Regions from separate parts of the Homo sapiens genome. Here region 2 is linked to region 1. Evidence: promoter capture Hi-C in 16 types of primary human blood cells and fetal thymus (Javierre and others, 2016). All regions are on one chromosome and are shown on one strand. The core of a region is centred on a gene start or on the middle of the fragment in contact, and the rest is flanking DNA. Distances in the headings are between cores, read along the strand shown. Region 1 holds the start of CCDC170 (coiled-coil domain containing 170). Region 2 has its middle 120 kb from the start of ESR1.

The links. Contacts are between HindIII fragments. The CHiCAGO score rates a contact against its expected background, and 5 or more counts as called.
Region 2: a fragment that was not itself captured here is called in contact with the fragment with the promoter of CCDC170 in region 1 in 2 of 17 cell types (M0 macrophages and M1 macrophages); the score reaches 7.0 in M0 macrophages.

What each region holds. Positions count from the first base shown.
Region 1 is chr6:151,490,571-151,496,433 of GRCh38, reverse strand. CCDC170 (coiled-coil domain containing 170) reads right to left here and starts at 2,417. Exons shown (of 11, transcript NM_025059.4): 1 at 2,249-2,417. The coding sequence starts at 2,305. LOC124901436 (a long non-coding RNA gene) reads left to right here. Exons shown (of 2, transcript XR_007059817.1): 2 at 1-27. The HindIII fragment of the contact is 3,463 bases long and covers 1-3,279 here.
Region 2 is chr6:151,684,663-151,690,525 of GRCh38, reverse strand. It overlaps a transcript of ESR1 not described here. Among named protein-coding and RNA genes, the nearest start is that of ESR1, 120 kb to the left of the region's middle. The HindIII fragment of the contact is 4,007 bases long and covers 273-4,279 here.

The DNA.
Region 1 (5,863 bases), core at 1,168-3,667:
CAATAAAATTTAGTTATTTTAAGCCAATTAAAATCTCATGCTTAATGGACATTTTCCTTTTGTAGGCAGTGACTTATGCTAAAAATTTCTATCCGAATCAATATTATTACTCAACTAATATGATTTCTTATTTATTGCTAAAGGGGAAAAATCTGGCAGAGGCCACCAGCTGGGGACATCACCAATAATGGGATAAGCTGATATATGCCCCTCCTGATGTGATACTCTGAGACATAACATCTCTTATGTTATTCCTACCCAAAAATCTAATCACGAAGGACAATCAGAGAAACTTACTCTATAAAACGAATGACCTGGACTCTGCAAAAATGTCAGTATCATCAAAGACAAAAACAAACAAACAAAAAAACAAACAAAAAAAATGTGAAGAACTGTTCCAGGTTTGAAGAGACTGGAGACATAACTAAATACAGTGTGTGATCCTGAGATGGAAAAAAAATTGGCAATAAATGGCATAATTGGGACAAGTGGCAAAGTTTTAGTAGGTCGTGTATATTAGATAATATTATTGTCACAATGCTAAACATCCCGATTTTGATCATTGTATGTTCGTTAGAGAATGCCCTTATTCATAGGAGATAACACACCAGAGTATTTACAGATGAAAGGTCATAGGGGACCAGGCATGGTAGTGCATCTCTGTAATCCCAGCACTTTGGGAGTCTGAGGCAGGTGGATCGCTTGAGCTCAGGAGTTTGAGACCAGCCTGAGCAACACGATAAAACTCTGCCTCTGCAAAGAACACAAAAATTATCCAGGCATCATGGCATGCCTGGAGTCCCAGCTACTCTGGAGGCTGAGGTGAGAGGATCGTTTGAACCCAGGGGTGTCAAGGCGGCGGCGAGCCGAGATCGTGCCACTGCACTCGAGCCTGGGTAACAAGGTGAGACCCTGTCTGAAAAAAAGAAGAAAGAAAGAAAAGGAGGGAGGGAGAGAACAAGAGAAAAAAAGGAGAGAGAAAGAAAGAATCATGATGGCTGTAATTTACTCTCAATGGGCTCACCAAAAAAAATATATATTAATAATATAAAAATACCACATACTTATGTATGGTTAAGACACCACATTGGGATAAAAATTAATAAAGTCAAATATGAAAATGTCAGATGAAAGAAAAAACATCTAGTAACTGGCCTCTGAGTTAGAAAGAAAGAAAAAATAGTTTTATTTGCACACAGTGGTACTTATTTTCCACAAATATTCCAGGAATCAGAGAAATCTAAATACAGGTCAGATGTAAAACAACAATCAAAGCTGCTGAATATTAGAAGAATTCCGATGGCACGTTGGAGAATCCAACTCATGTTTTGAATCCACTACATCCCCCAGGGATATCTATGGTCAGTACACAGCGTGGTAGGAAAAGTCCAAAACTTTGGAAAGAAAGAAAAATCCTCCATCATTTACTAATTGGGTGAGTTACTTGCGGTTAGCAGTTGAGCTGAACACAATTCCCCCATCTCTGGCAACTACTCCCAATACACACGATACCCGGTGGGCCCCGATGCCAAGGCCAAAGGGGGATTCTTAACCCAGACTGAGCCAGCCAGATCTTCTTGTGCGCCCAAGTATGCATATGCCCGTGTTCGTGTGTGTGCGCGCCCGTGTTTGTTCGCGTATGTGCCTGTTCGCGTGTGTGCACGAGCGTCTGTGTATGCGCGCATGTTCGTGTGTGTGTGCGCGCGCGCATTGGTACATCTAATACCTGAAAGTCCCCAGTACCTAAGTAACTCCTGGGAGTAAATGAGTAGATGCATTCAGGAACAACTGAATTACCAACGTTTCTGGATTACTTCGCAACGAAAGGGCCGGTGACTCTACTCCGGGCTGGCCCTCCTCCTGCCACATCAGATTTTCCAGAAATTGCTCCGAAGCACACTTCAGTAGCTAAGCAGGGAAAGTTAAATGAAGGAATTCTTTGCTCCCAGGGGTGGCGGGGAGGAACTGCCCGGCCACAGTCTTTCGAATGTCACCGGTTTAAATGGTCAGAGAAGCAGAGTGGCACAACCTAAAATTCAGACGCGCTCCGCAAACTCCGGTCCTGCCCATCCCCTCCTGAAATCAGCGCCCTGGCAGTCCCAGGCCACAGCCCTCGCGGGCACAGAGCTGCTCTGATTCTGCCCACGCCTCCGGGAGGAAAAGGGTGCAAATCAGGGGCGCCTCGGCCCCTCCTGGGTCGTCTATCCCCAGGGCCACCCCCGCGCGCGGCCGGCGGCTGGGACCGTACCTCGGGCGCTGGCGAAGCGGCACCCAGCGCGATATGGCTGGTGCAGTCCAGGCTCATGACGACCCGAGCCCGGGGGCGCGCTCGGACCCGGAACCGGCCCTGAGGAAGCGGCGGCGCCGGGAGCCGGCGGGTGGCGCGGGTGTCTCCTCGGGCAACGGGTAAACACCGCGGGGACGCGGCGGCGCGCGGCTGCGCGCGAGTAGGGTGGCCCGGCCGCAGGAGGCCGGGGTGGACCCCGAACCCCCGAGCGTGGCCTCCGTGGCGAGGGCCTGCAACTGAGCGGCCGAAACTGCCAGGGCGACCTGGGGGGAGTCGGCGGGGATAACGGTCGGTCCTCCCGGTGGGACTCTGCAGTGAATGCAATTCCAGGCCTCATCCTTATGTCAGCGATAAATACAGCCAGTGGGCACTGTGAACGGTGCTGGCGCGAGTGAGGCATAGGAAACTTCACAAGGGTGAACGGAGCATTTATTTAGCACACACTGTGTGCAAATGTGTCTGCGAGCGTGCAACCTGTGCAGGTCCGGGTCCTGCGCTTGGTTTAATACTCAGCTGTCCCAGTCTTGACGTTTTTAGGAAGTTTTGAACAAGGTGTCCTGCATTTTCATTCTGTACCGGGGTCCACAAATTATGTAGCCTGCCCTGGTGTGCGTTCTTTCATTTCACCTTCTCAACAACCCTGCCTGGAAGTACGGGTACTAGTAATACCAGTGTTAGTAACAGCCACAGCTGCTCATTATGAAATACTCGTGCTCGTCCATGCACTGTTCTAAGTGCTTCCCACGTATGATCAATCTCCTTAAATGAAACAAGATTATGAAGTGGATGTTAGAATAATCCATCTGCAAGACAAGGCAACAGTCACAGGGAAATAAAATAAAATTTCCAAGATGTACAGGGTAAGTGGTAGAATGAAGATCAGGCTCCAGATCATAACACTAAAGCACAGAGAAGATGAGTAACTTGTTTAAGGTCCCACAATTTGTAGCAGAATCTGAAAATGGAATCTGCATTCACCTCACTTTAAAGCTTTTGGTGGGCCAGGCGCGGTGGCTCACTCCTGTAATCCCAACACTTTTGGGAGGCTGAGATGGGTGGATCACTTGAGGTCAGGAGTTTGAGACCAGCCTGGCCAAGAAGGTGAAACCCTGTCTCTACTAAAAATACAAAAATTAGCCGGGCGTGGTAGCGGACACCTGTAATACAGCTATTTGAGAGGCTGAGGCAGGGAAAATCATTTGAACCTGGGAGGCAGAGGTTGCAGTGAGCCAAGATTGAGCCACTGCACTCCAGCCTGGGTGACAGAGCAAGAATCTGCCTCAAAAAAAAAAAAAAAAAAAAAGAAAAAAGCCTTTAGTAGACTCCTATGCTGTTTGAGACACATGAAATCAAACAGGTGGGAGGATTGCTTGAGGCCAGGAGTTTGAGACCAGCCTGGGCAATACAGCAAGACTCTATCTCTACAAGTTTTTTTTTTTTTTTTTTAAATTAGCCAGGCATGGTGGTGCACACCTGTAGTCCTAGCTACTCAGAAGGCTAAGGCGGGGCCAGGTGAGGTGGCTCATACCTATAATCCCAGTACTTTGGGAGGCTGAGGCAGGTGGATCACCTGAGGTCAGGAGTTCGAGACCAGCCTGGCCAACATAGTGAAACCCTGTCTCTACTAAAAATACAAAAATTAGCTAGGTGTGGTGGCACATGCCTGTAATCCCAGCTACTTGGGAGGCTGAGGCAGGAGAATCGCTTGAACCTGGGAGGCGGAGGTTGCAATAAGCTGAGATAGCACCACTGTACTCCAGCCTGGGTGACAGAGCAAGACGCCATCTTAAAAAAAAAAAAAAAAAAGAAAGCTAAAGCAGGAGGATAGCTTTGAGCCCAGGAGGTCAAGGCTGCAGTGAGCTATGATCACCACTGCACTCCAGCCTGGGCGACAGAGCAAGAGCATGTCTCTAAAGACAACACAAAAAGGCAAAATCAGAGCTATGGCAGCTTTTCTTGGATTCCATCAGTCATCCTATGTGCATTCATATTGACCCTGAGGATTTCTTCATCTGGACAATGGCTTTTGAGCTCACGGTAACTTTGCCATATATCTAATCCAGAATCATCTCAAGGCTTTCACTTGATGCACCGTTAAAGAAAAAGTTCTTAATGAAAACTTAGGCTTTCAGAAATCTCCTATTAATAGTACAATTTGGAGTAAACACATTTTTAAGTTGTAGTTTTTCCTTGCAGTAGAACCACTACAAACTTGTCAAATTTTCTTTTCTTTTTTTTTTTCAAACAGAGTTTCGCTCGTTACCTAGGCTGGAGTTCAATGGAGCGATCTCTGCTCACTGCAAACTCCGCCCCCTGGATTCAAGCGATTCTCCTGCCTCAGCCTCCCGACTAGCTGGGATTACAGGCATGTGCCACCACACCCTGCTAATTTTGTATTTTTAGTAGAGACAGGGTTTCACCATGTTGGCCAAGCTGGTCTCGAAGTCCTGACCTCAGGTGATCTACCTGCCTCCACCTCTCAAAGTGCTGGGATTACAGGCGTGAGCCACTGCGCCCGGCCAAACTTGTTAAATTTTCAATGAACCAACACTGCCAGAGGAAACACAAAATTGATGAAAACTCAAGACACCTGGAAGAGAACCAGATGGAAATCCTTCTCCATTAACTCTAATCCAATTGTTTAAGAATCCCATGTCATAAAGCCTAATTCTGCTCAGTTTGGTCAACCTTGTAGCTCTTATTCATGAGAATAGAAGATATAAATTTGCAGTCTTTAAAAATCAGCATGAAACAGATTTTTCTCTGTATAAAACAATGTGATTTTGTGGTAACTGGAGGCAGAAAAAGTACTTGGCTCAGCCCTCCCCAGATGCCTTTGAGATTTCTGGGATATCAAGACATGAGCCAAGTGACTCTTCAAGCAGCATCTGATGATGTGATGACGTCAAAGAAGTTGAGCTGGGGGGACCCCGAGGTCTGGACCTTGGAGGAGATGACGATTTGGGCTAGCTGGGACCATGGTGGTAGAACATTTCAGGCTGGGAGTTGGAGGGGGGCGGTCTCTAGGTCTGATAACAGTTTAAGCAAAGGAGGGAAGAAAAAATGTACAAACAAGTTCCAGTCCAGACCTCTCACAAAACCCCGTGTGTGGGCAGCACCGTGTGGCCCACAATACCTCCGTACAGACCTCTGTTTTGGAGTTTTCTTGTGGTGTCGTAAGTTTAGAACTCTGGTTTCCTCCTTTTGCTTGTTTGCTTGTTTGTTTTACAGATGTACATGTTTCTCACGGGAACATTTGTAATATGATAACTTTTGGAGCTTTTGACTTCCGATTGAAAACTTGTCACTGAAATCACTCCTATGACATTTTAATTGTCTAAAGGTTGTTTAAAAGAGTAGGCTTAATTTTAGTATTTTCCTAAACACTTGCTGTGATCTAAATGTTGGTGCTCGCCACCCCAAATTCATTTGTTGGAACCTAATACCCATTGTGATAGTGCTAAGAAGTGGGGCCTTTGGGAAATGATGAAGTCATGGGGGCACCACCCTCATGATTGACATTAGCCCTTCTAAAAGTGGCTCGGATTTGTTAAAGGATACAAAGTGACAGCTAGA
Region 2 (5,863 bases), core at 1,027-3,526, 190 kb before region 1:
AGTCGGTAGACAGGAGGCTGTTATGACCATGAAATTAGGAAATGCAGTAACTCAAAAATAAAGAACTAGCACCACCATTTGACTAGGATTGGAAAATCTCATTGAAAAAATAGAGGAGGGGGTGGCCTTGCTTTTGCCAAGCCAGGCCCGAATCTAACTTTCTTAGCACTTCCATTAAGATGGATGTTCAAGAAGAGGTAAATCATGTGTTAATCTGCCTGAAATATTTTTTATGCCATCCAGCCGATTTTCTCTTTATTCGTAATAAAGCTTGAAGTCTAGACAGGCATGTGGAGTTGGAAAAAAAAATAAAACATCATTCAGCACATAAATTTTGTTAATCCAAAGTTAGCTACAGCTAAACTAAAAGCAGGGGCAAGGAAATATCTTCTGTGAGTGTTTTTTGGGACTTTCTTACTCAGGCATGGACTCAAAAGCCCGCTCTGCACTTCTTGTTACCGATTAATGAGGTTCTTGACTTCGGTAACCTGCAGAGGTCTAGCTTCTCACACTCTTCAGCCCTTCCTTCTGTCATATGATCCTTCCATAAACTGTCCGGTATTTCCTGCAGCAATTTTTAAGTTTATGAGGTTATTGATTGTTTGTTTAACACTAAGATAAACATTTTAAAGTAGCAAAGGGGCTGTAAAATCATATTAAAAATTTTTAATAATATTGACATTTTAATATCTCATCATGTCTGGTGTGGTTTATGCAGTAGGTACTTTAAATGAATTTTTAAAAATATTTTCTCTTTTTCTTCTCTACAAGCCTTGAAAAAAGGCTGGCTTTCTGGCAGTGAGAATGGTAGAATGGGGCGGAGGCAGGATCTCCCTCTTGCTACTGTATTTCTCTCTGTCCCAGTACCCAGTACAGAGGAACACCTGCCAAGTAAGAGGTGCATCTCAAAACTGGCATGGGAAAGAAAGAAAACCAAAATAAATAATCAACACTTTAAAACATTTTGAAATCAATGATCTTAACTGTCTTCAGTCTTCTCTATACTTATCAGTTAGCCCATAAAATAATTTAAATATGTAAATTTGTCTGAGAGTAACTTCTCCAGAATACATAGAGCAGGACACATTTTAGTTAATATGTAAAGTATTTAATTGCAATTGACTGAACATAAAATCTCAACAAGATTCACTTACACAAGGAATAATCATGTATACTAACGCATTGTGGGGGTTCTGTAAGCATTTTTATTGTGTTTATTATGATTTCTGGTGAAAGGTAGATTATTGAATAACATGCTCTGAACAGTTCAAGTGTTTTGAAAGCGAAATATTTTTTCTAAATTAATTAAATCTTTCAATTATTTTAGTTGCCAGAATGGGTGAAGTATGCTTTTCAAACAGCATTTAGCTACCTGTTAAAACCAGTTTTACACATCAATACAGAGATGAAAATTACATAGAGCAACAGTTCTCAAAATAGGACAGCTAATGAATTCTGAACTGAAGGTTATAGATTATTTCCTTTTCATTAGAAAATATAAATGTACAATGTATATTGTATGTAAATTATAAATTAACTTAATTATCCTTTAAAAAACTATTATTGATATTCGTTTGCATTCCAATATGTGCTTTCTTGAGTGCAAGAGAATAAAAATGACAACAAATGTCTTCTGAGCATATATAGTCATCCCTTAGTATTAGGGTTGGGATATTGGTTCCAGGACAAGTCCCTGATATAAAATCACATAGTATTTACATATATCCTATGCACATCCTCCTGTATACTTTAAATAATCCATAGATTACTTATAATACCTAAAACAATGTAAATGTGAAGTAAATATGTGTTATACTATATTGTTTAGAGAATGAAAAGAGCAAAGTCATGTTCAGTACTGGCACAATTTTTTTCCTGGATATTTTTTTCTTTTTTTTTTCCCCTAGTATGCAGCTATTTTCCTAGATATTTTTTATCCAACCAGAGGTTGATTGAATCCTCAGATGTGGAACCCACAGATATGGAGGGCTGGCTGTACTAGATGTCAGATACTAGTTTAAGTATCTTTGTAGCAACCCAGTGAGGTAAGTACTACTAAAAACCCATTTTGCAGTTGAGGAAACCGTGGGATACTGAGATTAAGTACCCATACCAGCTGCGGCCAGGGTTCAAACTCACATGGACCAACTCAAGCCTCCATGCTTTTAAAGCTCCATTTCAGAATCTGAACCAGCACAAGGAATTACACACAAGGACACACTATGGGAACACACGTGCTTTGTATGTGTCATGAGAGGAAACTGTTGACAGGTTTATCAGTGAATGGGTAAAAACAGTTCCATCAAATCAATCCAGAAAGGTTGTTATGAATCATTTTGAAGTTTATTGTTCTAATGAAATCACTAAAAATAAAAATGTGTGCTTGGACCAATACATTTTTTAAACTATTCTGTGCTTTATTATAGGGAAAATATATATATATCCTTCAAGGAAAAGTGTCTAATTAAATTGCATTCATCACTATTAGACAATTAGGTTGAACAATTAAAAAAGAAGAAAACAACAATTTAAATGAAGCAGTATAATACAGTGTAATTGAAACACAGGACAAATTTAATCTCGTAAGTATAATTTAAAGAGATGTATCATGCCATTACACCTGATTCCCTCACACACATTTTTCAAATGAAAAATAAAGCCTGACATTTCATCAAAATCGTGCTATCCACTACATCTTTATTTTTTTAAAAAAAGAGGGTCAACACACATTCCTTGGTAGTGTCACATTGTTTATTAAGAAGCACAGAACAATGAAATTCTAGAAATTTTTCAGGTTCCAACCTTTTTGTGATACATTCTCCCATTCCAGAAGAAACCACTAACAGCCTGGCTTCCACAAGCACAGTAAAGCAGAAAATGGATGCAATCTGTCTGGGTTGTTCAAGCAAAATCCTGCTGTGATCTGGGTGATTCAGGCTAAAATAAAAAATCAGGTTTTTTATTTGGACTGTGTGTTTTTATCTGCCACCCCAGATGATAGCAGAGTCTGGGACTCAGTTACATAGTTAATTGCCAAAATTCTTTATTCGTTCTTCTCAGCAAAGATGTTCCCACTGGGCACTGCTCAAAACACTATCTCAGTTCTATCACTCTAGCAAAACAGCTCTGGGCTTCTGGCTTTCCTCGTGAAGAGCAACCAAAATTGAAACTCTGCTTACCTGGAGATATCAATCAGTACCTGACCACTCACTCACTATCGTTCTAAGGAAAATTGCCATGCTCTCAGCTCCTGTTACTTGAACAACCAACTCAAGTTCATACAACCTCCCCACCCTACGCCCACTTCAGATCACAGCTAACTGGACCATGGTGAGACACCCAACCAAAGATCAGCCAAACTATAGACTGGCCAGTGACCTAGGACATGACCAAATGTGAAAAAGATGAACTGGACCAATCATTCAAGCTCTGAGGGTATGAATTTGGAAACCTGCACTGAGGTCATGAGCCGCAAAGGACAAGGGCATGTCTCAGGGTGGCATGGAGGCCAAAGTAAGGAAAGCCTCCTAGCAAGTGAAGTTATGCAGGAACAGAGAAAGCCCATGAGCTGAGATAACACATAGGGGGCTCTGGACCCATGAGCACATTGCAGGGTCTGGCTATAGCCGCATGGTTGGCTATAGTCACTGACAGGGTTGTAGAATTTCCATAATTTCTTCTATAGCCCTTATTACCAGGTATCCAAGGGCACCTCTGGTGGTCTTTCCCATCAGAATAGTGTAACCTAAGAGTGTTTAGCTACCTTAAACATGCATCCAGGGCCTAGGTGCTGGTTGGTTGGTTGGTTGGTTGGTTGGTTGGTTGGTTGGTTGGTTTTGAGATGGAGTCTTGCTCTGTCACCCAGGCTGGAGTGCAGTGGCGCCATCTCGGCTCACTGCAAGCTCCGCCTCTCGGGTTCACGCCATTCTCCTGCCTCAGCCTTCTGAGTAGCTGGGACTACAGGTGCCCGCCGCCACGCCCGGCTAATTTCTTTTTGTATTTTTAGTAGAGACGGGGTTTCACCATGTTAGCCGGGATGGTCTCGATCTGCTGACCTCGTGATCCGGCCGCCTCGGCCTCCCAAAATGCTGGGATTACAGGCGTGAGCCACTGCGTCCAGCCCCAGGTGCTGGTTTTTATAGCAGAGGCATAAAATCCATCAGTAGTCCACTTTTCAGTGTCCAGATCTAGAGTGTTCGACAACGGAGCCATAATATGACCCATCCTCAATGACACTGTATACTGTCTTTTACTCAGTATGAAAGCCCTAGTTCAAGCTTATAGGGATAAAAATAGTCTCTTTCTTCAAATTTTTTTAAAACTATCTTTCTTCAAATGACAATGTCAAGCAGAAAATACTTTTGGAAGAAATCAAGAAATTTGAGCCTAGAAGTTCAAGACTAGCCTGAGCAATGTAGAAAGACCCCGTCTCTAAATAAAAAAAAAAAAAAAAAAAAAAAATTGTTTTAATTAGCTGGATGTGATGGCATATGTCTGTGGTCCCAGCTACCTGGAGGCTGTGGTGGGAGAACTGTTTGAGGTTGCAGTGAGCCACGTTCGTGCCGCTGCACTTTTGCCTGAGTGACAGAGTAAGACCCATCTCCAAAAGAAAAAATGCAATTGAACTTTACATTTCATCTGTAGAAAGGCTTTTAAAATCTGCTTTCATAAATTATGTGCCTCCTCTTTATATACACACATATATATAAAGCCATAAACATCTTATGTGAGGAAATAATTATGAAAAATTTTCTATTAGAAGAATAAATGGGCTATCATATTTACAGGAGTGACAAAGGAAGCAACATTGAAGAAGACAATGATTTAAAGCAAAAACATTATTGATACTGCTGAACCAAAATAGCTTTCTGACCCTTCTTACTCCCCATCTGCCCCTCAGTCTTCTCCCCACTCTTCCAGACATCTCGATCACCAGATACACAAATGCACACACTTCTCAGCAGGAAGCAAGGTCTCAAGTAGGATCCAGAGAAGGCTGGCCCTTCGGGTAGTTTACGTTTGTCAACTACTAAGGTGTACTTCTGAGCAGAAAGGAGAAATTCACATATTTCCTCTAAGGACAAGAGGCCAGTGGCCGGGCGCGGTGGCTCACGCCTGTAATCCCAGCACTTTGGGAGGCCGAGGCGGGTGGATCATGAGGTCAGGAGATCGAGACCATCCTGGCTAACAAGGTGAAACCCCGTCTCTACTAAAAATACAAAAAATTAGCCGGGCGCGGTGGCGGGCGCCTGTAGTCCCAGCTACTCGGGAGGCTGAGGCAGGAGAATGGCGTGAACCCGGGAAGCGGAGCTTGCAGTGAGCCGAGATTGCGCCACTGCAGTCCGCAGTCCGGCCTGGGCGACAGAGCGAGACTCCGTCTCAAAAAAAAAAAAAAAAAAAAAAAAAAAAAAAAAAAAAGAGGCCAGTGTCAGACAAAAATGATATTTAAATACAGCAGAGACTCTGTTGCTAAGTTTAACTTCCCAGCTTGCACAAACTCCGGAATTTTAGTGAAAGGAGCAGTGGCTTTACAGAAGAAAAATCTCTGTAAACCCCTCAGAACAAACAAAGTGAAGCCTTAATTCCTGTACCAGGTACCGATTAGCAGTGGAAAGCGCCTGCCTTGAGGCTTCCCGTTTGCAATGAAACCTAGTGGAAGAGGGTCCTGCCTATGGGTGCCTTTGATTGGCACCAGCAGCCGCAGCCTTGGCCCCCCAGCACTGGGGGCTTCTGTGAGCCCAGCAGTGATATTCAGCACCTGCCTGTTCACCTGGCCCCGCAGGAAGGAAGAACCAGAAAGAATTGCAGGTTGCAAACAGTTGATAGAAAGCAGAGATAAAATATTATTGTGTTATTGTTGTTT